Linked DNA regions of Homo sapiens: regions 1, 3, 4, 5 and 6 are each linked to region 2. Evidence: promoter capture Hi-C in 16 types of primary human blood cells and fetal thymus (Javierre and others, 2016). All regions are on one chromosome and are shown on one strand. The core of a region is centred on a gene start or on the middle of the fragment in contact, and the rest is flanking DNA. Distances in the headings are between cores, read along the strand shown. Region 1 overlaps MED12L (mediator complex subunit 12L). Region 2 holds the start of SUCNR1 (succinate receptor 1). Region 3 holds the start of P2RY14 (purinergic receptor P2Y14). Region 4 overlaps MED12L (mediator complex subunit 12L). Region 5 overlaps MED12L (mediator complex subunit 12L). Region 6 overlaps MED12L (mediator complex subunit 12L).

The links. Contacts are between HindIII fragments. The CHiCAGO score rates a contact against its expected background, and 5 or more counts as called.
Region 1: a fragment that was not itself captured here is called in contact with the fragment with the promoter of SUCNR1 in region 2 in 3 of 17 cell types (M2 macrophages, monocytes and M1 macrophages); the score reaches 5.9 in M2 macrophages.
Region 3: a fragment that was not itself captured here is called in contact with the fragment with the promoter of SUCNR1 in region 2 in 4 of 17 cell types (M2 macrophages, monocytes, M0 macrophages and 1 more); the score reaches 10.5 in M2 macrophages.
Region 4: a fragment that was not itself captured here is called in contact with the fragment with the promoter of SUCNR1 in region 2 in 5 of 17 cell types (M2 macrophages, monocytes, M0 macrophages and 2 more); the score reaches 9.9 in M2 macrophages.
Region 5: a fragment that was not itself captured here is called in contact with the fragment with the promoter of SUCNR1 in region 2 in 5 of 17 cell types (M0 macrophages, M2 macrophages, M1 macrophages and 2 more); the score reaches 9.2 in M0 macrophages.
Region 6: a fragment that was not itself captured here is called in contact with the fragment with the promoter of SUCNR1 in region 2 in 2 of 17 cell types (M2 macrophages and monocytes); the score reaches 5.6 in M2 macrophages.

What each region holds. Positions count from the first base shown.
Region 1 is chr3:151,340,389-151,344,616 of GRCh38, reverse strand. All of the region lies in intron 16 of MED12L (mediator complex subunit 12L), which reads right to left. P2RY12 (purinergic receptor P2Y12) reads left to right here. Exons shown (of 3, transcript NM_022788.5): 2 at 3,857-4,021. Among named protein-coding and RNA genes, the nearest start is that of P2RY13, 13 kb to the right of the region's middle. The HindIII fragment of the contact is 3,309 bases long and covers 232-3,540 here.
Region 2 is chr3:151,870,947-151,875,106 of GRCh38, reverse strand. It overlaps SUCNR1 (succinate receptor 1), which reads right to left and starts at 1,464. Exons shown (of 3, transcript NM_033050.6): 1 at 1,401-1,464. The region is part of intron 1 of AADACL2-AS1 (AADACL2 antisense RNA 1); the gene reads left to right. The HindIII fragment of the contact is 8,098 bases long and covers 1-3,404 here.
Region 3 is chr3:151,276,899-151,281,069 of GRCh38, reverse strand. All of the region lies in intron 16 of MED12L (mediator complex subunit 12L), which reads right to left. It overlaps P2RY14 (purinergic receptor P2Y14), which reads left to right and starts at 2,528. Exons shown (of 3, transcript NM_014879.4): 1 at 2,528-2,783. The HindIII fragment of the contact is 1,068 bases long and covers 816-1,883 here.
Region 4 is chr3:151,320,720-151,324,934 of GRCh38, reverse strand. All of the region lies in intron 16 of MED12L (mediator complex subunit 12L), which reads right to left. Among named protein-coding and RNA genes, the nearest start is that of GPR87, 6.0 kb to the right of the region's middle. The HindIII fragment of the contact is 3,707 bases long and covers 1-3,561 here.
Region 5 is chr3:151,297,188-151,301,150 of GRCh38, reverse strand. The region is part of intron 16 of MED12L (mediator complex subunit 12L); the gene reads right to left. GPR87 (G protein-coupled receptor 87) reads left to right here. Exons shown (of 3, transcript NM_023915.4): 2 at 953-1,084. The coding sequence starts at 1,051. Among named protein-coding and RNA genes, the nearest start is that of GPR87, 18 kb to the left of the region's middle. The HindIII fragment of the contact is 1,146 bases long and covers 2,068-3,213 here.
Region 6 is chr3:151,357,574-151,361,543 of GRCh38, reverse strand. MED12L (mediator complex subunit 12L) reads right to left here. Exons shown (of 45, transcript NM_001393769.1): 21 at 939-1,070. The region is part of intron 1 of P2RY12 (purinergic receptor P2Y12); the gene reads left to right. Among named protein-coding and RNA genes, the nearest start is that of P2RY12, 25 kb to the left of the region's middle. The HindIII fragment of the contact is 1,228 bases long and covers 1,851-3,078 here.

The DNA of each region.
Region 1 (4,228 bases), core at 637-3,136, 530 kb after region 2:
AGTATATATCCGGAAGTAAACTGCACATAGCAACCTATCACGTCTCTAAGAAAAGCAGTAAAAACCAGTCTTTAGAAACAATAAATGCATTTAGTTAAAATTTTTAGCTTATTAAATAACTCTTAAAAGATGCCTTAAAACACTATTTCTTTCAGCTGTATCTTTCAATATACCATGCTATTTTGTTTAGAATAAAACAAGTTCATATAAATGTTCCATCAGGAATAAGCTTCGAGCCTGGGAGGAAGAATGGGTGTGCACATGGATGAGGAAACTGTTACAGGAATGAAGAAATTAACAGGTTTTTTTTTAATCATTAGTAACTATACATAGAGTATATTTTCTGTAAATCAAGAAAATAGGAGGCGGATTTAACTACATTTGTATATTAAATCTTTGTTCTACACAGCTTATAGTCCACAGTATGACTGATATTTATATATCTACTAGTCCTCTTCTTGCAAGCAGAACACTTAAGACTGGGATGTCAGATAACTAGGTCACAAAAGACGGCATTCATTTTTGCGAAATATTTCAATGCCCAAGACTCGTTACTTTTGGAACCTGTTGGTATCTAACCTAAATTTCTATATTCCAATGGATAAAGCCAAGCTAGCAGACATGACTATGCACTGCTTTAAAATACACACCCTCAAACAAAATATTAATGTCAAAATGACCACATTTAGAACCAGAGACCACTGGAACTAAAACAGCCTAAGAGCTATCAAATGTCATAATTATATCTCTATCCTCCTGCCCAGTTCCAAAAGACTACAGGTTTCAGAGTAATCCCATTTGAAGCAAACATTTTCAGATGAGCAGACTACCTTTAGTAGACTTGGTAAAATAAACAAACCAGTTAAGCCACTTAAAAGTAAAAATTCTGTTCATTTTTCTAACTCATCTCAATTATACAAAATAACCAAACCAACCAAAGTTAGCTCTGTTCCCAACACTAACACAAATAACTACAAACTGTATGTGTTGATGTTATTTACTAATGAGAGATTAAAGTATCTATAACTTGCTCTGCTTCTATTCATATGAAAATATACTTCTGTAACTGAGATACTTTTCACTTAAAGATTTTAGTCACTTTCAGCATTAAGTGGTCTAACTGGCAGTCTTCCTCCAATGAAAAAATGTTATCAGAGGTGGTTTGTAAATAGGTATGTGGTTGTGAGTTAAAAATCAGAGGAAAAATAAAGTTAATTTAGATCAAGAACTGAAGCCCTTCTTTTATCCCTCAAATCTCTACTGTTAGCCCTTCTAGAGGTTTAGAAATATAAATTCTCAATAAGGTAGTATGACTTAAGTATTCTGAATTAGTAATATGGCAGATTGATTTGTTAAAAATAATCATTTTCTTGAATAAGCCTTGTTTCATTTGATGGTCTTAGAAAAAGCATCATAAACATCCTTTAGCATTTACAATTTGCTGTAAAGGAGAGTATGGTCCTTATTTTATTGAAAGACGTACAACCATCCCACACGAGATTCACTTCTCACTACTGGGGCCTCTTAGTGGGAGAGGGGTTGAGGAGAGGGTGTGATAGGGAAAGATTCTCAGGTACAGAAATACACAAATACAGATTCTAAGGCTAACTAGACAGCACAGGTCAGAATGGGGTCTCCATCTAACTTCACTGCTCTGCTCTTCAGTTCCCCTCATCCAGAGAATGAGGATGATACGCGTACTTCAGAGAATAGTTGAGATTATTAATAAAGTGAGTTAATCCATGACAGTGTAAGAAATTAAATATTGACAATTATTATTTGAAGTACATACAGCATAAAAGCTCTTTTTAAAATTTTGAGACTCCAACAAATAAGGAAGGCTAAGATTTGTTTACAATAGTCATATTTAAAAATAACAATACAACCCTTTCCAAGAGTTTAATATCAAACTAATCCCTTTAAGATGACCAACATTTGGGGATTATTATGTGTCTGAAGTGACTGATATTAATAGCTTCAAGTTCTAAATGGCAACAAAATTCTTATTCCATTTAAATCAGTGGTCCTCACATTTGAGTGTACCAAGCATCAATGGAAGGCTCACTAAAATACAGATGCAGGGTGGGGCACCCCAGAGTTTTTTATTCACTCAGCTAGATTGGTGCCCAAAAATGTGCATTTCTAGCAAGTTCCCAAGTGATGCAGAGCTGCTGCTCTGCACTGTGAAAACCAATGAAGATATTTAACATGTAAAGACATAGACAAATACTCAAAACGCAGAAGAAAAAACCAAAACGTGTTCACAGCAAAGGCACCAACACAAATGATTCCCACTGATAACAGAAGGACACTGCAGTTTGAGACACCAGGGAGGTGTGTTTCTGCAAAGCAATATTTACATAAAGTTAAAGCAGCACAGGTGTTGGAGAGGATGTGGAGAAATAGGAACACTTTTACACTGTTGGTGGGACTATAAACTAGTTCAACCATTGTGGAAGTCAGTGTGGTGATTCCTCAGTGATCTAGAACTAGAAATACCATTTAACCCAGCCATCCCATTACTGGGTATATACCCAAAGGATTATAAGTCATGCTGCTATAAAGACACATGCACACGTATGTTTATTGCGGCACTATTCATAATAGCAAAGACTTGGAACCAACCCAAAAGTCCAACAATGATAGACTGGATTAAGAAAATGTGGCACATATACACCATGGAATACTATGCAGCCATAAAAAATGATGAGTTCATGTCCTTTGTAGGGACATGGATGAAATTAGAAATCATCATTCTCAGTAAACTATCGCAAGAACAAAAAACCAAACACCACATATTCTCACTCATAGGTGGGAACTGAACAATGAGAACACATGGACACAGGAAGGGAAACACTACACTCTGGGGACTGTTGTGGGGTGGGGGGATGGGGGAGGGATAGCTTTAGGAGATATACCTAATGCTAAATGACGAGTTAATGGGTGTAGCACACCAGCATGGCACATGTATACATATGTAACTAACCTGCACATTGTGCACATGTACCCTAAAACTTAACGTATAATAATAATAAAATTAAAAAAAAAAAGTTAAAGCAGCAAAACACTTTGCCCTTCAATCTCACCCCTAACATATTTTTTGCCCTTCTGGTTTCAAAGTTAAACAACTGTAAATAATTGTGATACAAGGATGCCTTAATTTAATGTTATATTTTCCCAAAAACTCAAAGTTAGGTAAAGAAACAAAAAAAAATTGTTTATATTTAAATTCTATTCAAGAAAAGCATGAACGACACAGTATATAATAAGCCTGGCAATGGATACAATCACTTCTCTAATGTAATTTTGGAATCTGCTAATTTATAATAGAAGGAAGCTGTTTCACCTACAAAGGAGTTAATCAAACACAGGTTTAAAATAATGACATTATTAACCAAGGGAAAAACAAAGGGCCAGAGACTTAACATCCCTAGCCAGCACGCATTTTGAGTTAACATAATTACTTGTTAGAAGAAAATACATCACCCAGTGTTGTACACAATATATTTCAGATAAATTAACCACCCAAGAAAGCAAGCTTAAAATCTTCTCCAGGAAGCAGACTTCGAAGGCTTGATCTCAACTTGGATTTATCATTTGCATAGAAAATAACCATAACTCGAAGTTATAAATCATCAACTCTATAGCAGGTTTCAGTAAAAAGCCGCAAGATTTTAAATTGCTTTTTAAAAGATGACTTCTCAGCCATCCTCATCCCACATTTCCTGGGAAATAAAAGCAGAAGTCCTAAAAGAGGACAGATAGAAATTCAGTGTCTGCATAGCTTTGAGTCCAGTGTTTGAAGACAATCTCTGATTGTGAAGCCCTCTTTTTCTCTCCTTCTATTTCTCTCTAGAGCACTCAAGACTTTACTGACGAAAACTCAGGAAATCCTCTATCACAAAGAGGTTTGGCAACTAAACTAAGACATTAAAAGGAAAATACCAGATGCCACTCTGCAGGTTGCAATAACTACTACTTACTGGATACATTCAAACCCTCCAGAATCAACAGTTATCAGGTAATGTTATTTCTACAAGTACTTGACAAATATATGTATTTACACTCTGATATGTGTGTACATTTTTTCCAAGTTTCTCTTAAAATTGTAAACCTTAATAACTATCAATGCAAGCATGTATTTGGAATAAAAATTATAATTAAAATAGAAGTCTAATTAGTGATGTCAGAGACAATTGTTAATTAGCCTCTTTATTAAGAAAAATTA
Region 2 (4,160 bases), core at 215-2,714:
TAGAATTATTGAACTAGAAGCAATATCTAATTTACTCACATAAGCAGACCAATAATACTTAACTTGAAAATGTTTTTTACTTTAAATATATTCAGCCTTTTGAAAATCTGCATTTTTGAAATTTACTTTAAAATATATATGTGATAGTTTCTTAGCTTTTTAATTGTTTGTTTTTATAGTCATCACAATTAAACAAATAACATTTGTAAAATGTTTACTTTTAAGTGCTACCTTAAGGCAAATTTACATGGTAACATGAGAATTTTTTTTAACAAATTACTTTTTTGATTACTAAATAATTTGAGCAAAAATATATATTCACACTGAAAAGATATAATAATTTAACATTTGTAACTTTATTTTTATGTATTCCATACATTACACCAGAAATTAAGGTATTAAAAAGTAATAGTATGGCACAAATTGTGTATTAACTTCTTTAAGAATACCACACACATTTTGAAAAGTTATGGAAGGTAGAATAGAAATGGTTTCTGCAATTTTTCATTTTTCCTAAGTAAATTAATTATTGGGTAATATCATTTTTACACACATAAATGTTAAATTTAATTTTTAGGATGCCTGAAAATTCCCCCAAATACATTATTTTCTAAACATAAAAATATTATGCCCCAGCACAGTGGCTCATGCCTGGAATCCCAACACTTGGAGAGGCCGAGATGAGTGGATCACCTGAGGTCAGGAGTTTGAGACCAACCTGACCAACATGGTGAAACTCCATCTCTACTAAAAAATCCAAAAAAAATAGCCGGGCGTGGTGGTGGGCGCTTGTAATCCTAGCTACTCTGCAGGCTGAGGCAGGAGAATTGCTTGAACCCCAGAGGCGGAGGTTGCAGTGAGCCAACACATGCTGTAAATGTGTCACTCTGGCACTCAGACACTCTAGCCTGGGTGACAAGAGTGAAACTCTGTCTTAAAAAAAAAAAAAAAAAAAAAAAATATATATATATATATATATATGTATGTATATGTGTGTGTGTGTGTGTGTGTGTGTGTGTGTGTATGTATCAAATACATGATTGTTTCAAATCATTTAGGAACTTTAATTTTTCCCCATAAGTAGTTATATTTATTTAGGTAAATCCAATTACTATTTTGTTGAAATATAAGTTGTTGAGATGTTAGCAAATATAATAAATCCTTTTACATAAAATAAAATTAGTATTTGACAACTAAAAGAAGACAGTTAATTTGTTGAAAAATAAACGTAGAGATAAAAATGACTTTTTTTTTTCAATTATTTTGCTGTTTTACATCTATTTATAAAGAATTAATTTAAACACTTAATACTGAAAACCTTAATTGCTCACAGGTCACCTTTAGAAGGAAATCTGGCCTTACTTTATACACTGAGAGGCACAATTTGCCATGTAGCTTACCATTCTGTTGGAAGACTTGATCCCTTGACAGGAACTCTGCCAGCAGCTGGATATAGCTTCTGACCCAGTGTTGTGCCACTGGACATGGTTATTACAGTGTCCTATTTGCATATCCTATTTGCATATCCTGCAGCCAAGATTAATAATTCAAAAGCCCAGGAATAATTTATTCAGTCAAACCTCCCAGTCAGAGATGTTCATGCAGAGGAATTTTTGTGAGGCTTTTATTTTCACATTCACATTTATTTTATTTTCACATGCAGTTTTGCAATTGAATGACAAAAAACAAGTAACTCATTTCACAGGAAACACATTTACCAAATAGATTTTTAGAAAAACACTGTTGAACTTATTTTATCCACTACCAAAGCAACAGAGAAGCATTCCTTATTTTCATTTTATTTGCATATTTACACAATAAGAAGTGGTAAATACTGCTTATATTGGGAATACAGTTGCCTCTGCTTTTCTTCTTTTTTAAAATTAATTTTCTTAGTGAATTCTGTATTGAGAATATAATAACGAAACCTCTGTTTTCAATAACTTTGAGGGAACTATAAAACTGAAATTTTAAAGGGAAACCTGGATATATGCTATGTTGGTGTACTAGCAAAAAGATACTAGAGCTTCAAGTTATTTTCCATTTTATTTTCTGTGCTTAAAATCAAGAAACACATAAAAGATACATCAGATAGCTAGGGATTAGGGAGAGAGATGCTAAGTAAAATAACCTTAATAGATGGCAATTTATATATCCCAATCAATGCTCTGAAAAACATCTGGAAGTACATTACCACCATTTCAGACAGGAAGCACACCTGGCTTTTTCCAAGCATTATATTAGGTTTAGATTCAAGTAAACACTCAGTCTTCTTGATGTGAAGCATAGGGATTATACTAAGAAAGCCCATAATTGTGCAGGCAGCAGTAATTCAATTTAAATGCTATGTAAGTTGAATATTGAGTTAGCAATGACAGGCAGAAGCCCAAAAAGAAGCTCTGTTACAGGCATCCTCCTAACTAAGCATTTCTCCTCACCAATATCTGACAGCTTAAAAACTCAGGAACTCAAAATATATGTATGTATATATACACATACATATATACATACATATGTGTCTATATTACACACTTTATATACATGTGTAAAATATATTTATACATGTATGAATATTTATGTATACAAACATGTGCATTTACATGAAATAAAAATATCTATAATTTGTTGAGTTCTTGTGATGTGGCAGGCAGGTATTACACTAAGTACCTTTATGCATCAAATGCATATAGTAATCCTCTGAGGTTGTTATTATTTAAGATTTTTCTCATTTTGCAGATTAAAAAGCTAAGGTTCAGAGAGGTCAATTAACTTTCTCAAGATTGCAGAATCAATAACGGGAGGGACCAGAGCTTAAGCCTATGTACTTGGATTCTAAAAGCACCGACTCTGATTCTTGACTGCCTACAGAATTGAATGACAATACCCTTGTGCACAACAAAGTCTAAGAATTAATAACAGGTATTTTTCAGTAATGCAATTCTTTTCTACTTTTAGAAGGAAGAAAGGTTAAAACATTATTTTTGTCTATATTTTTAAAAGGGCAAAAAGCATTTGAATAACCAATGCCAGGCTTGTTAATTTTAGACATAAATTAACATGAACCCCTTCCAAGAAACAAAGACAAATGGATGTATTTCACAGGTTTCTGCCACCATTCTGATGGAAGAAAAGAGTAATTCCCCCTTTGTGGGGTGGTGGGAGTTCCCGAGAGCTTCCTCTTTCTTCGTCCCACTTCCTGACTACCATCTCACTCTGGCTGCTAAGACAAAAATTGGTCTATGCTTCTCCTTTTTCATAGAACACGTCATCTAGACTGTAGCCTGGTAGCCTTGTTTCCCTCCCAAGTCCTACTTCCTGTTTCCTCCGAATGCTCTCAGTTGAGATACTAGAGTGTTACTGGGAAAGACTTACTAAAAGGTCACGAGTATTTCTGCTACAAAGCTTTATGCAGGTCTGCAAAATGATAGCTGCACGGGAACAAGGCTGGATTCAGAATTATGACCCTGTGAGCAGGGTGGGTTTCATGGTATGCTACTGTGTAGTCTCACAGTGCTTCACACTCAAAAAAGATCACACAGTTGAGTTAATGCTCTACTGTCACATTCTTAATTAAAATGTTTCATAACTTCTTAACAAGGGACCCCATATATTTCTTTTGCACTGGGCTCTACTAAATATGTAGCCAGTTCTGCCTGTGAGAGTAGAAACCTCCTCAGAAACTATTTCTATTCAGTATAGCACATCAAATTTTGAGGGGGCAAAGTTTTTTTGTTTTGTCTTTTTTTTTTTTTTACATATAACATGTTGAGATGCACTGCTTGAGAATCAATGGAAGTTTGAAAGGCAGTGAAAGTTTGCAGTACTGGCCGGGCATGGTGACTCACACCTGTAATTTCAGTACTTTGGGAGACCAAGGCAGGCGGATCACTTGAGTCCAAGAATTGGAGACCAGCCTGGGCAAAGTGGCAAAACTCTGTCTCTACAAAAAATGCAAAAATTAGCTGGGGCATGGTGGTGCGTGCCTTTAGTTTCAGCTACTCGGGAGGCTTGAGGATGGCCTGAACCTGGGGAGGCCGAGGCTGCAGTGAGCCATGATTGTGCCACTGCCCTCCAACCTGGGAGACAGAGTGAGACCCTGTCTCAAAAAAAAAAAAAGTTAAGTACAACAATGAACACTTTTTAAAATATATATTTTTTAA
Region 3 (4,171 bases), core at 100-2,599, 590 kb after region 2:
AAATATTGTCAGGCTAAAATATTTTTTCAAACATTAATACTTACTTCCAATTCTAATAAAGGAAAATGTGTACAAGCTAAACTGTGATTTAAGCATATCCACAAAATGTACAGCACAACCTAAAGACTACTTCAAAGTCCAGTCCTGCTACTTTCTAGCTTAGACAACTGTTAAATTTTCTGAGGCTCTATTTTCTTACTTGTGAAAAAAAGGAATAGTTACTTCTCCAAGGGTTGCCAGGTGTTTTGGCTGTGAAAAGATCTAGTAGGCACAGAGTACGCTTCAATCGAGTGTACGAGTATGTGCATTTGAGACGATCCAATCTTTCCAGATGAGCTTTCCTTTCAAGTGCCTAGCTGTCTGCCCCCTACCCACCCCTCACCATCCTTGTACTGCTACGTGCCAATAAAACCACAGAACAGAGGTCACAAGCTGACTGCTCACAAGCCCAATACAGTGCACACTCAGGTTTTGTTTTAGCCCACAGGGTATCAGGTCTACACTGGTTTGTAAGGTATTCGATTTAGACACCAACAAATGAAATCAGAGGAGACATATAAAGGCAGTAGCAGTGCACAGGCTCCAGGATCTGCCCAGCTCCAGCAACCTGATGTAACATCTCCATGCCTCAGTTTCCTTGTCTATTAAGAAAAAGGTGGGGAAGAAGTAGTAGACAGACCTACTTTACTCATGGAGCCATTGTGAGTAATCAAGCTAAAACACACAGAGTGTTTAGAACAGTACATGCAAATCAGCGTTTAATGTTCTGAAGACACTGGCCCATCCCAAGATGAGGCCCATGACTCTGGCAAGCTTCCAGACACAACTGTCCCCCTGGGTGGGCCCTTTAGCTTTCCATTTCTCCATACTCCCTCTACTCCCAAGTGTCTTACACAGAGTCCAACCCATTTGTACCACCTGCCACGAGGGGACCACCTGTAGGGCTATCCTTTTGGCCTTGGACTTTGCAACTCCTGGCATTAAGAGGCAAGCAAGCAGCTCCAGTCAAAGAAATTATCATGTTCTCCCCAGTCATACTCAATAACATCTATGTGAAACACCCCACGGGGAAGTCAAGAAGCAACAAATTATCATGTTCTCCCCAGTCATACTCAATAACATCTATGTGAAACACCCCACGGGGAAGTCAAGAAGCACAAAAGGGACCCGGAACAATTAATGGGTGTTTTTGAGACTGTCAGAGTAAACAGCATCTCCTGCAATAAATCAGGGAAGTCTTGAGAGTCGCACCTTAGAGATACGGTTCCTGCCAAATCATCAATTTAATCAGCAAAATGTTTACATCTGGAGGACTCTGCAATGTGCCCTGGTAATAACCAGGCTCTAGCGGCTCCTCCTCACATCCACTTGTCCTTAAGTTTATTTACCTACCAGATCTCACTGCAGCTGAAGCTAACAAGCCTCTCTATGCACATCAGTATTCTTAGCCCCTCAATCAAAGCATCAGTGAGGACTATTGGGGCCCGCTGGGGGTCTGAAGAAGAGTCCCTCTGGCAGGGAGAAATGGCGAACTTCTCTAAACAAGCTCTGTGTCTCACAGGTCTTTGCCAAGGATCAACAGTGACTAGCAAGTCTGTGAGACAGAAAGTAAGAAAATACTCTTCATGAGGGAAATAACTGTTTGGGTATGTGTCAGTCACTACTCCATCTCCAATGTCCAGAACACTGCCTCCTACGTAGCAAGTACATATAAAGCAACTAGAATAGTAACGGGCATGTCATAAGCCAGTTATAATTATTATAACTAAATGTATAGCTATGTTTTTAAGGCAAGCTGAACTTTACTAGTTGTTACCCATAATTTGGCAATGGAACAGCCTAAGTAAATACACTTAAAATGCAGGAACCTTATAAAGTAAGCTTTTCAGCCCCTTGTCTTCTTTCTTTCTGGTTCTGAGTTATACACTTTGAAGAGGACTTTGTAGCCATCTTCTGAAAACTTCCAAATCTAATGGCACTAATAGTCAATGGGAAAGACAGTGGAGCACTGCAGGACATCACCAATTATATTACAGAGCCTGAAAGGAACTAAAAATATGAAGACTTTCAAAATAGTAACACAGCACAAACACCAAAATGTTAACACACGAGGAGTTTATCTGAAGTCCTACTTGTGATCTATTTATCAGTAATGTTCAAATATGGGAAAATTAATGTGGGAAAAATGACAATGCAACACCTCTTATCTAGAATATGTCGACATTGGTGTCAAAATACTTCTTTATTCTGTTAATTCCGCATTTCCAGGTAGCTCCAACTACCCATCTCTGCACGTTATACTGTGAAGCTGCTGACAATTTTCTGAGGGTGCTTCAGAAAGAACCATATCTTACACATCAGTTCTCCACCTCATACCACATGTTGAATTTGACAATGGCAAAGGTTAGAAAAGAAAACAGGTTTTTGCCTGGCTGTGCATCAGATGATGTAGGGATGTGGGGAAAAGTAGGAGGAGAAATAAGAAAGCAGGACTGTTTTTGCATTACTGGAGGAAAGGAACTAGCTCAGAAGTCAGCCTAACACCCACAGAGATTAAAACGTCTCTTCCTTCCTCTTTGTTTCCACGTCCCAGTCTTCAATAAATTCTATCTGACAACAGCAGCAGAGGGACCCACTATCTTGTGGTTTCTGTCAAGTTCCTGATTTTCATCCGTAGTTGAAGATGAGCAAGAACTCTGTAACAGTGTTACCTTGGAGCCTACAATGAGAGGTATTTCAAAATGAGTGAAGCATGACTCTCACAGATGAAGGCCTAGACGCAGGTAAGAAAACAGCTTTTCCATGAAATGACTTGCATGTATGTGAATGGTGCATGGGAACAGAAAAGATTTCTGAGCTGGGCAGCAACAAAGCTGAGGAACACTGAACCATTGCCACTCACATTTTTCTCAGTAGGTTACTTTTTGTTTGACAACTATAATTGGTATATTAATATATTTCCCCATGCTAATATGGGGATCCAATACTGAAATATTATCATTTATGATTTAGGATTTCCAATCGTGGCTGTCAAAATATATCTGTGATGAAGAGATATCAAGGAAAATGTTTAAAAGGTATTCATCCAGGACAAACATTTCAAAAGCTCGTAAATGTGTATTAAAATTGCTTCTCAAAACTACAAAATCGATTAGCATAATACTTAGGTCAGTATGTCTTTGTTTGCAATTGCATATGTGTACAGATATATAGTTGCATTTACTTGTACATACACTTATATAGGTAAAAGTTTTTATCTTTGTCATTATTAGGATAAGTTAACCCCATTAACACCTACTAAAATAAAATGCCTTTAAATTGTAAATCACAGAAATATCTGTCCTAGGCATAGCAAATATTTGAGTTCATATGCTACTTATTTATAGTCTATGACTAATCAGCTAAATTACTTACAATTCTTTAAACATTATAAATTAAATTACATTCAGGAGAATTAGCACAGACCCACAATGTCAGCTTATTCAACCAAGCCCATGCAATCCATCTTGTCTACATATACTTTGTTAACCAAGGACAATCAATCCTACGGAGAAAATGAATCAAAGATCACACTAGTAAAAAAATAAATAGTTTGTATATTCATCTTTCTAAAACATACAAACTTGATAATCAGTTTTAGCACTAAAAAAAAACCTAGCCATTAAGTTAAAAAGAAAACAATGCACTCGGAAAATACCAAAATGGCATATTTTATGATTTGTAAACATGCAATGAATTTTATATTTCGGTAAAATTTATGAATACTATATATACAAACATGCATACAATTGTGTGCACACAATTAACACATTGGTATATATGAATGAACTCTATATTGTCATGTCTGGAAAAAAAAAAAACAAGGAGGCCAGGCATGGTGGCTCACACCTGTAATCCCAGCACTTTGTGAGGCCAAGGTGAGTGGCCTCAGGAGAGGCTGGTCAGGAGTTCAAGACCAGCCTGGCCAACGTGGTAAAACCCCTATCTCCACTAAAAATACAAAAATTAGCTGGGTGGTAGTGGTGCATGCCTGTAATCCCAGGTACTCAGGAGGCTGAGGCAGGAGAATCGCTTGAGTCTGGGAGCCAGAGGTTGTGGTGAGCTGAGATCGGGCCACTGCACTCCAGTCTGGGCGAGAGAGTGAGACCCTGTCTCAAAAACAAAAACAAAC
Region 4 (4,215 bases), core at 459-2,958, 550 kb after region 2:
TTATCTATTATTTAAGAAAAAACATACTTAGAAGACAGTAGCCCTACTAAGGAAAGTGCAGAATTTACAAATCATTTGAAGCACCCAGAAACACATCTCAACATTTGAAATTTTACATAGAAACCAAATGTAGGAAATATGAATACAGAACACATGTGCCATATTAGTTTGCAAATTTTAGTGGCTACCGGAATCGGCTGGAGAGATTCTCCAAATACACATTGCTAGAACCATCAAAACAACAAAGCAGCACATCTGTCTCCTTTAATAATCCCAGGCAGGCTATGAAATGCTTATTATCTTCATTTTAGAGATCAAGAAGTTGAGAAACAGAAAGGCTAAGTAACTTGCATGAGGTCACAGAGCTTGCCATCTGCAGGAATGGGGCTTTAATTGAGACGTGGCTTCTAAGCCCATATTCTTAACAACTGTATTTACAACCTCAGGTCTAATTTTCTCAAGTGAATTCACAATTCCAGTCTCCCATGCTATATTTCCTGTTATTTACAAAACTTCCGTAGCCACCCCCATGCTCCCTGACCCCACAAAAACGATACGTTTCTGTGTGGGTAGTAACCAGCCCAGATGCTGCCAGGTAATAAGCCCTGACCTAGAGGCTAACAAGAACCTCCCAGGACCTTACCCAAGCAGCTCACACTCATTTCCTGAATGCCTGCTGTGTGCCAGGCTCTTTACAAAGATTATCATTTTTCTAATTCTTACTACAATCTTATGAGACAAATACTACTAGGCTCTCTAGTTAAAAATAGGAACAAAACTGAAGCACAAAGTAAACATACACCTTGCCCATGGTGCACATCACTCACCAACAAATGGGGCAGAGCTGGGACTGAAACCCAGGAAGGTGGTCTCAAGACCAGCACCTCAACTGCTCTGGTCACTGCCTCTCTGTCCTGTCAGACTTAGCAGAATTCCTCAAAGGCCCCACTAGGGAGAATGAGGAGGCTTCTTAGAGGGGAAGAGAGAAGTCTCAACACGAATGGGCTTCAACAACCTCAGGGGTATGAATGGTGCAATAGTGGCACCTACAATTACTTCAGGGGTCCCTCCAGCACTTGAGAGCTCAGGGGGAGTAAACTCCCCAATAGTGGATTCATTTGTTCATTTAGCCAGTCATTCCTTCATCATCAACTTGGGTACAGGGCCTTTTGCATCTCTAGAAGGTGAACACTGGTAAGGAACACAGATTATAATGACTCAAGATGTGATAAGAGGTGTGAGAGACACACCACAGAAGTTCAAAGGAATAGGCAATTCATTCCACATGGAGAAAATGAAGAAGGGTTCACAGGAGATGGAAATTTGAACTGGAACTTGAAGAAAACAGAGCATTCAAAAGGGAACCCTGCGGCACAATAAGCAGTTTCAAGGCAGGCTCAGGTAGGGGTGGAACTGTGCTGTGGTTGGAGCGTGAGGGTTGCAGGGGGCCTGAGCCTACAGCACATGACATAGGGAATACATTTGGGACAGAGATGCAGGACTGTACAGCCAAGCACTGTACTGGGACATCTAGTCTTCACTAATGAGTCGTTGAAGGTTTCTAAGGTGAAGAACCACATGTTCTGGGCTGTGCTTTAGGAAAATCAATTGACCAACTATAGGATGATTCTAGACTGAAGGAAGAGCCAGTGAGGCCAGGTCAATTAAAGAGGCTTTCCATGTATGCAGGCAAGAATGATGGGGAAAACATCTGACATGGACCTTCCAGACATTCTCAGGGAGAGAGGTTTTAAGTTCAGAGTCCAAGACCATTGAAAGTGGGGGACTCTATGTAAAACATGTGGTTAACATGTAAAATATATTAGCAATGGGATCCATAATGCCTCCACCCCCTTCTCCTCGAATTGAGGGTTGATTTCTCTCAGGACCGTTAGCTTGAACGATTTGCTAGGTCATCATCACAGAAGTGGATTTGGGGTATGTTCCATTTGAGGTATCAGTGAAAGAGCTAGGGTCAAAGAGCCCACAGCTGGGCCAAAATATGGACCCAGGCTCCAAAAATAGGACTAAGATTAGAGGTCTAGGGAATAATCTTTTTTGAGACAGGGAGAGAAAAAGGAATGAGATGAGAACCCCAGAGGCCATACTACACAGGTCTCATGGTCACAACAGACAGAAGAGGAACAGGGGATGATGCCTTGGAACTGGGAGGAGTGGGTAGTGTTAGTAGAAAAGGAGAATCAGGAAGTCCAGTGTACTGAATACCAAGGAACAAGAGAGATTCAAGGAGGAAGAGATAGCCAACAGAATTATACACTCTAAATTTAGTCAAAAGTGATGAATCTACAACTATAAGGTCAACGATAACTCTGAGGTGGAAGTGGGGTGAGCTCCAGTTTGTGAATGGGAAGTGAGGAAGTAGAAGCAACCCTTATCTTCCCATAATGGATAAGTCAGTTTAAAAGAGTTCCATGGGGCGCCAGATGCAGTAGCTCACACCTATAATCCCAGCATTTTGGGAGGCCAAGGCAGGTGAATTGCTTGAGCCCAGGAGTTTGAGACCAGCCTGGACAACATGGTAAAACCGCAACTCTACAAAAAATAAAAAAATAAAAAAAAAATTACCTGGGCCTGGTGGCATGCACCTGTAGTCCCAGCAACTCGGGAGGCAAAAGTGTGAGAATCACTTGAGTCCAGGAGGTTGAGGTTGCAGTGGGCCATGATCACACCACTGCACTCCAGCCTGGATGACAGAGCAAGACCCTGCCTCAAAAGACTTCCAGGGAGAAACAAATCAGCTTTTATATTAGTTAGGCTTTTCCCAGGGATTTCTATGAACATGTAGAATAATTCCTTTCTATGCTATGATGTGCATAGTGAACATGTTCCATGTGAAATAGCTAACAGAGAAGTACAAATCAAACAGTTGGGTGCAACCACACAGGCCAGAGAACTCAGCCTTGGTCAGAAACTGGGTGTATCAATATTTTCAATATCCATGTAACCCGGGTTTCTGCTTCCTTGCCTCCATTCTCATTCTAATATGAAGTCCTTATAGAAAAAAATAAGATGGGAAGAAAGGAAGTCAGAGGAAAGGAGAGATGGGGACACTAAGAGAAAATGGTAGGAATGGAAGTTGAGACAATTGGGGGGAGTGATAAAAGGGAAAGAAAAAGGCAAGATAATATGAAAGAGAAAGGAAATTAAATTTAAGACTTAAGGAAGTAAACTAGTTCTTTAAAAATTACATAACTTACTCAGCATGTGAACTTTTGCCACTCTTGTAATACAACTCAAACTGACAAATATAACATCCTGAGGCATAATAACAGAATGTCCACCTTTATTTTTGAACTTCAGTTTAAACGTTAAATGTGTGTATATGACTTTACTTACTGGTGTTGATCTTAATTGTATCTAATGTATTTCTGAAGGCTTTCATAGCTTTGGGTTTTTTAAAAAAAATATTAGCTTTATGTATTGACTTTATATCATATATACACATAATGTCACTGGTCTTTAAGTCTTTTTTTATTCTATTTAACTGTACAACTGAGTTTCCTAAGTCCAAAAATGCCCAAACTGTGAATGAATGAAGCTTTATCCTGAACACAGTAACCCTACTGAGACGACCTCCCTTCTCTCCCCATATATTCTAACCTCAGCTTTTATAGATTCCCACAATTTCAGATAGTCTGGAATAAAGAAGTCCAAACTTCCTTCTTTACAGGAGAAAAAAACTGTCAAAAAAGATTATAAAAAGCATTTCAAGCAATCATCAGTTTGTCACTAATAGGAAACCAGAAGCTTTCTAAAAGCAACCAAAATTATGGATGTACCTTAACTTCTAAGCTGAGGCATATCATTCCAACTCCACCATGCATCAGACACCCCATTCATTCGCTTGCTCTCCCTTCACCTTCTGACAAAAGACAAAGTGCTCCTGTACCCTTAAATGCCAACCAAGTTCCAAACACTGTGGAACTACACTGTATATATTTATCCTGAATAGATTACCTCATTTAAGCTTTACAACCCTACATGGCAGGCATTGCCATGCTCATTTTCAGAAGAAGATATGCTTTGCCCAAAGTAAAAAAAGCTGCTAAGTGGAGATGTTCCAAATTGGAGTTTACCTGACCCCAATCACTAGTCTTGTCACAGCCGGACACTGCCTCTCGCACAAGCAAGATTTACAAAGCAAGGAGATAGATTAAGTTGCCCAGCATAGGAAGGAGTATCAGTAAAAGGACA
Region 5 (3,963 bases), core at 1,391-3,890, 580 kb after region 2:
CCCAAAAAGGAGGGATTCTGAGAGCCTTAATCATTGCCTATGCTGCATTAACCAAAAAAACACTTTCTGACTTCTGCTGTGTACCACATACCGGAGCTGTTCAAGGTGACGTATGGATAGACTGTCTAAACTCTCAAAAGAGTGGATTCTGGGTGGAGAGCATCACTGAAAAATTAAAAACCATTTTTTCCATCTACTACCAAATCAAGTACCTTAGCTACATGTGATATTTGCAAACAGAAGAGAAGGACACACACAGGAACATAAAAAGAAATAATAACTGCCTCTCCACTTACTGCAAACTCTTACACATACTCCTGCCTCCCACATGCCCTTTCCCTGCTATCTCAGCACATATGCAGGGACAAAAGTAACTGCTCACACCAGCCTCAAGTTTGCTTTGTGATTGGACAGAATGAGGTTACCTGGGGTCTCTTTAAGCAACATCAGTGATGGGACCTGAAAGTCTCACATGGTTTTATTTCATGAGAAAGAGTGTGACTTCCCCTAATGGTAAACTGTCCTATAAGCATATTTTACTTTAGCTGCACTTTCCAGAACAGTTCCCAGGAATTCTGCTTTCTATGGTCAATACGTGATAGAATCCAGAGAACAGGGAACAGACCCAGCTGCAGGGGAAGGGGTGGGGGAAATCATGTTTGATAATATCCAACATTGCACATACATATGGTCTCAGCTAACCTTTATTAAGATGTTGTGAAGAATGCAAAGCTCAGAAATGTTAAGGTATGTAGCCAAAGTCACCCACAAGACATAACTCCCAGCAGGGAATTATGAAAGAGGGCAACTCTGTGTGGCCCAGGTGTTCATCTCCAAAGAGCACATGCTTTCTGAATCGTGGAGGCAATTGCTTTAACTGAAAAGACCAAAATGTTGTATTTTAAAATTCCTTCCCAGATGATTTTTTCCTCATTTTTCATTTTCTCCCCAGAAATCAAACCAGGAATAACCTATGCTGAACCCACGCCTCAATCGTCCCCAAGTGTTTCCTGACACGCATCTTTGCTTACAGTGCATCACAACTGAAGAATGGGGTTCAACTTGACGCTTGCAAAATTACCAAGTAAGCCGTCGTAAGAGATACAAAGAAAATCTTACTTTATTGATGACTATTATTTCCACTGTTTGGGAATTTGGGGAGTTTAATGGTCAGAGAACCAACTAACAAAATAAACCAGCATTTAGCTTTGTGTTTCCTTATGTATAAAACAGCAAACATGCAGGACAGTATCGCTGAGATAAATTTAGCTTGCTATCATTTTGTTTTAAACTTTGTTTCATCTAGACATCATCTCTAAAATGACAAGTAGGATTAAATTAATAATATTTATGGAAGATTTTAAACACAAACTAAAATTACGTATTACTTTCCAGATTTAATAGTCTAAACCAAGGTTCATGAGGTTCCCCAAGAGGCCAGAGATAACATCTACCTAATCTACTGGGTAACTATTTGGAAAATGATCATACCTAAATACAAAAAATTAGCCAGGTGTGGTGGCGCACGTCTGTAGTCCCTGCTACTCAGGAGGCCGAGGCACTGGAATCGCTTGAACCCAGCAGACAGAGGTTGCAGTGAGCTGAGATCGCACCACTGTACTCCAGCCTGGGTGACAGAGCAAGACTCTGTATCAGAAAAAAAAGGAAGAAAGGAAGAGAGGGAGAGAGAGAGGAAATAGAAAAGAAAAGAAAAGAGAGGAGAGGAGGGGGAGGGGAGGGGAGGGGAGGGGAAAAGAAAAGAAAAGAAAAGAAAAGAAAAGAAAAGAAAAGAAAGAAGGAAGGAAGGAAAGAAAGAAGGAAAGAAAGAAAGACCGACCTAGGCAGCTGTGCCCTGGTAGTGACACCCTATAATTTGAATGACTTTTATTATTTCATTCCCACCTGGCAGGTAGAGCAGTGACATATGTTGAGACTTTCACATTTTGTGCCAAGTGTCACGTCCCAGTGAACAATGATGTAGCTTCACCAAAGGCAAAAGTGGCAGATTCTTCCCTACTCTGTCATTCATAATGTGACTCTATTAACAAGAGAAATGGTAATTAAGCTTTATGTTATAGAATGCATACCTACTAAGTACTAGATACTGTAGTCAAAATGTTTGCAAAGCATTTAACTCTCAGAAGATCCAGCAAGACAGCTATGTATTCCATTTTACAGTTATTAAGAGGCTAAACCAGCATTGTCAAATAGAACTTTCTGCATTGATGAAAATTCCCTGTATCTGCACTGGCCAATACAGTAGCCAGATGTGGTTACCGGGAAACTTGAACGTAGCTAGTATGACTGAGGAAATTAATTTTTTAAATTATGTTTAATTTAAATTTAAAAGTTTAAAGCCACATGTGGTTTGTGCTATATCTGGCTACAAAGCCCAAGCATTCCCCAACACACACACTCAGTCCTGTACACACACATGCACAAACCTATTCCCCCCGGCAAAGACAGCCAAAGTTCCCTTACGTCCCAAACAAATACCACCCTCACACATGGCACAAAATAATTTACTATGGAACTAGTAAACTGAGTTATGTCACTGCATTTGTTAATTTAAAAGGAATTGGAATGAGAGTCAGAGAGAATACCAAAGTAGGTTTTACTCTCAATTATCGCTCTGTGTCAAGCCCTGCACTATACAATCCAGAGAATACCACCCTAGTAAACAAGAAGAAGGGATGGGGAAATCATGTTTGATAATATCCAACATTGCATGCACATATTGCGAGAAAACAGCCTTTACACTGTAAAACAGCTTCTAATTTTTCTTAACTGAATGACCAAGCTACTGTCAATTAAAGATGTTTCCTAACTTGGCCAAGTTCTTTACTGTCAGGGAAGAACAACATGATAAAACTGCCTGGGTGAAGAAAGCCATTCACTTTTACTGGTCAATATTCCTGAGTGGAAATATCATATAGAGAAATGCTTCTGAGTACACCTATACGTTTTGGAAATATTTAAGGCAATGATAGAGAATAAATGATGGGCATTAGCTGGCAAAAAAGAATGTGATATAAACTTAATTCTAAAAAACAAATTAATCACACGAAACTCTCAAAGTTAAGTTTTGAGCCTTCCAGAGCAACCAGATGAGTAATGGCTCATCTGCTTCTTACAAACCATTTTTTGTCTCTACTACCATATTGTTTCAGCAAATAACCCATAACAGGCTTTAACCACTAATTTGTTTAAGCTTTGCTGCCTAAATGTGAAATTTGTGAATGAAGTAATAACCAGGAGAGTAATAATATATATATATGTATATATGTATACACACACACACAACCTTTTTTGACATTCTGATTGGAGACTATCTTTAATAATAACCATAATTGTTAGGCAAAATCATCATCAATATCATCATTTAATAAGAATGTGTTCATATAATTAAACTTTAAAATATTATAATGATATATGGAACTCATATCCCTAAGCAACACTGTGAAGTAGGGGTTCTTGCACTCCACGATAGGTATGCATAGCAGATCCCCAGGGAGCCAACACAAGCAGTTGAAATATTCCCTGCCAAGTATGCTGTAGCTCATGAACTAATATATTTGTATTTAAAATGATTTTGAAAAGCAATTCATAAGTAATTGTTACAAGGCACAGCCAGCACCTCAAGAGATGACATGGCTGCTCCTTTTCAGGCTGTGTCCCTCAGCTGGACCCTTTATTCCGATTTAAACTCACATGTCCTCTCTCTATTTCCCTAAGAGTTCTATCCCAGGTTAGATGAAAGTGACTGCTAATCATTTAATTGGGTAAATTAATTCAAGCAGACATCTTAACTCAGTTAAAGCCACACATCTTAAGAAGTTCCTAACGTCACTGATACTGATTTGGATCTTATGATGCAAAAACAGCCAAGACTACAACACGTCATTAAATCAAAATAGGCTTGAATGATACTGTACAAGGAAATATTACAAACTGGCAGCAGTG
Region 6 (3,970 bases), core at 1,215-3,714, 510 kb after region 2:
GGAATCAAATACTACTATCATTATCAGGTCATGAATTTTAAGTCTAAGATAGCAAGTAGGTTAACTGCAGAATTTACAGTACCTTTTTATGATTAATTCAGTTCTATTTTTTTCATACCAGGAAACATTAGATAGCATTTATCAAGCTGAACCTGAATCTAATACAATCTGTAATAGAAACCAGGTTTCCTACTTTTAATGCACATTGATTTAATGTTATTCAGTGAGGGTACTGGTCATTTTAAAAAAACTCATTAACACATGAAAAAGTTACCTGCTAAACAGCAAAATTGTTTTTGTGAAAAAAGAGGAAAAGTAAACACAGTCTGAAAAAGTTCTAGAAAAGTGAATGGGGCTATAGAACCTTCTATGAGTCACCAGGAAATAAAAAATGAAACACTGTAATGCCCAAAGGATATTAAAGCTAATCCAAGTAATGCAAAAAGTCAGCTCAGAAAAGGTAGATATCAAAATCAAGAGGGATACAAATAAAGCAAAATACAAAGAGCTGCCTCATTGATCTTTCTATTAGATTTATAATCCAAATTGAATTTTAAACTTAAAATGGAAAGATATATCAAATAATCATTACTTCAGTAGGACTTACTTAAAATGCACTGTCTGTACAACATATAGAAAATGTAAAATCTTAAGAAATACTTTATTTATTGAAGAAATAAAATCAGACCTAACATCATTTCAATATTGGGGGAAAAAAAACCTATGATCACACATTTACATTGTGTAATAGACTATCGTGTATTGTCCCTGTCTATTTTAATATTCAGTTTAAACAAATCATGAGTATATCAAAATTACTGCCTAATAGATACAATTGCAATTAGCTTTCATTATTCAAAAGGATGACAATATTGTCAGGGTCACTAACAAACATAGGCATGATCCTATTTCTGTCCTTTTGAGTCTCTTCTACTCACCTGAAGAGGTCTCCAAATTTACTTCTGAGGTGGCTACATGACACATAGAGATCATAGAGGTAGGCTAAAATGCATCTTTCAGGGGAAGAACATTCTGAGGGGTTTACGACATGCTTGACCACACCACACAACCTGAGGAGAAAAATATACGAAGAAATAAGACATAGATTTGTACTATGTGGGTTATCATTTGACTCTTTTAGAATGAAAATATGTATCACTTGGGTAAGAAAAAGGATATTGGATTGTTGAAACTAATAAATAGAATAGTAAATAACTCAGTACAATATAATTTTTCTATTATGACACTGAAATAGATTTTAAAAAAAACTTCAGAAATGTCACTGATGACAAGAAACAAAAGCAAGGAAAGAAATTCCTTCATAAAGAAGGTACGTATGGAGGAATCCACCGATTAAGTTGCTGGGACTGAGACACAAAAGGAAAACTGTTGTAGAGAGCCCCTGCCTCCGCAGATTCACAAATTCCATCAGCGTGCAAAGATTCCCAAGTTTTCTCCTTTGTAAAGGAGCAATGCTTCAAAGCAGTCAATCTGGAAAACCCATTTTCAAGTGCATAAGCAGTTCATGGTTTGGAGTCACATTCCCCTTATGCATGTATACATTCCCCTATGTATACCAACTAGTAATAAATTTATTTTAGTTTATCTTATATAAGAAGATAAAGCCCCTTCTGTTTTGTAATATTCTGTATAACTCCTGTAGTTATAGGCCTCTTTGTCCACAGTCCATACAACACAGAAGTCCATACACCACAGCTGTAAACACTTGTGGTCCATTCACCTATCTGTGCATCTGATTCCATCACCATCTTGTATTTTGTTACAGGGCTCAGCCATTATATTACACTAACGGAGTCACAGATGACAGATTATTAAAGACGAAAAAAGCTTTAGAAACTATCTGATTCACCATCCTTATTGTATAAAGGAGGCTCTGAGAGGCAGAAAGGTGGGGTGACTTGCTCAAAGGCAAAGAGCTAGTTCTAGCAGAAGCAAGACAACAGCTTAGGTTTCCAGACTCCCAGATCAAACTCCTCTGTACTATTCAGGGGAAAGGGCAAAGTGGAGAGAACATAGGATGTCTAGGCCAAGGAGGACAATGGAATCACAGGTACCATAGGTGGAACCAAGGAGACTTCTTGAGGAAATGGCAATGTAGTATCCCAAACCCTGTGAAATGACATCAACAGATGGGACTACCTAGCAGCAGGTAAAAGCTGCCAATTAGAACAAAAGTGTCACACAATTAAGAAGAAAAGTAATGATTCAACCTGTTAACTATATAAACAAGCAAACCAAAAACTATGCAGCCATAAAAAAGAACAAAATCATGCTCTTTGCAGCAATATAGATGTAGCTGCAGGCCATTATCCTAAGCAAACTAATGCAGAAACAGAAAGCCAAGCACATATTCTCACTGTAAGTGGGAGCTAAGCATGAGGTACACGTGGACATAAGGATGAGAACAACAGACACTGGGGACTACTGAAGTGGGGAGACAGAGAGCAGAGGAAAGGTCTGCAAAACTACCTACTGAGTACTATGCTCACTTCCTGATGGTTTCAATCATAACCTGAAACCTCAGCACCAAGCAATATACCTTTGTAATAAACCTGTAATAAATCTGTTCTAAAATAAAAGTTAAACAAAATCCTGATATTATCTATAAAGCGAAAAATTATTTTGTGACTAAAGTAAATAAACATTTATTCAGAGTCTGTTAGGTTTAGGTATCCATCGTATAGTAGTCAGTGTTTCCTCAACTTCTTTGATTTGCAAGCAATAAGAAAAACATTTCACATCGTAATCCAGTGTACTGTTCACATAAGTACGAAGAAGTGAAATAATAGTTTTAAGCATAATACTTACCCTTACTAATATAAGGTAAAAATACAACAAAGTTAATGTCAAATATGATTTTATGAATATTTAACAGGATAAAAATTTTCAAGGCCAAACTAAATGATACTGAAATCAATTTCAAAATAACAATATTAAAAACAAAAAACAAAAACAAAAAAACTTGTCACAACCCATTAAATTCATTTCATGACCAACTAATGGGTTTCAATATACTATTTTAAAAGTAGAACATAGATTAAACAGCATGAATAAGCTTCCAGTTCGAAAGATTTTTATTAAAATCTGTGAGATTTATTAGCTATGTGATATAGGGTACATCACTTCACCAAACACTTAACAGGCCTGAATCTCAATTTCCTGGGCTGTAAAATAATACTAAATTCAAACTTTATACAGTAGCTGAGTTATTAAATAATTCTCTATTTCCTGAATTCTAATATGTAAATATTCTTACATTCTGATGTTTTTAGGATGTTTCAGATTTCATTTCATAACATGTAATTAATACAAATAAAGGTAGCATTTCCTCTTTCCCAGAATAGCTACTGTTAAATTGATATCATTCTAGGATAGCATATAAATTGATTACATGTGCTAGATTAAAAAAATAAAAGGTACTATAAAACCAAAGAACCCCATGATTCTTTTGAGCTCAGAAGGAAAAACTGAAGAGAAAGAAATAACAGGTTGTCTTTCTGTGTTTAAATAAAAAGCCCTGGAGAGTGGATAAAAAGCAGCTTATGTAAGTTTTTGAGAGCTCATTTACACTAATTTGGTGCCTTAGCCTCAGTCTTTAATGGGGGTGGTATTAGCTAATTCTGTAGCTCAACTTCATTAGTAGAGTAAGCCCCAGCCTACAACTGAAAATGAAGTAATTTGTTCTAGGTTAATTCTTATCAAAAGATATCTTTAATCAAAGAAATGCAATTGAAGAACCAAATTTCTAAGATGATAATGTATGCAAAGCTTATTTGATGTTGAGTCTGCAAACATAAACTGAAATTACATGAATAAAGAAGTTACAGCATTCACTATTCATAATATGCCAGGATGCTGGCCAACATTAACCGTAGAGTGCTATAAATGACTAGCTTTGTACTTAGAAACCAGGGAGAGGGAAGAAAGGCAAGGAGGAAGGGAAGAAGGA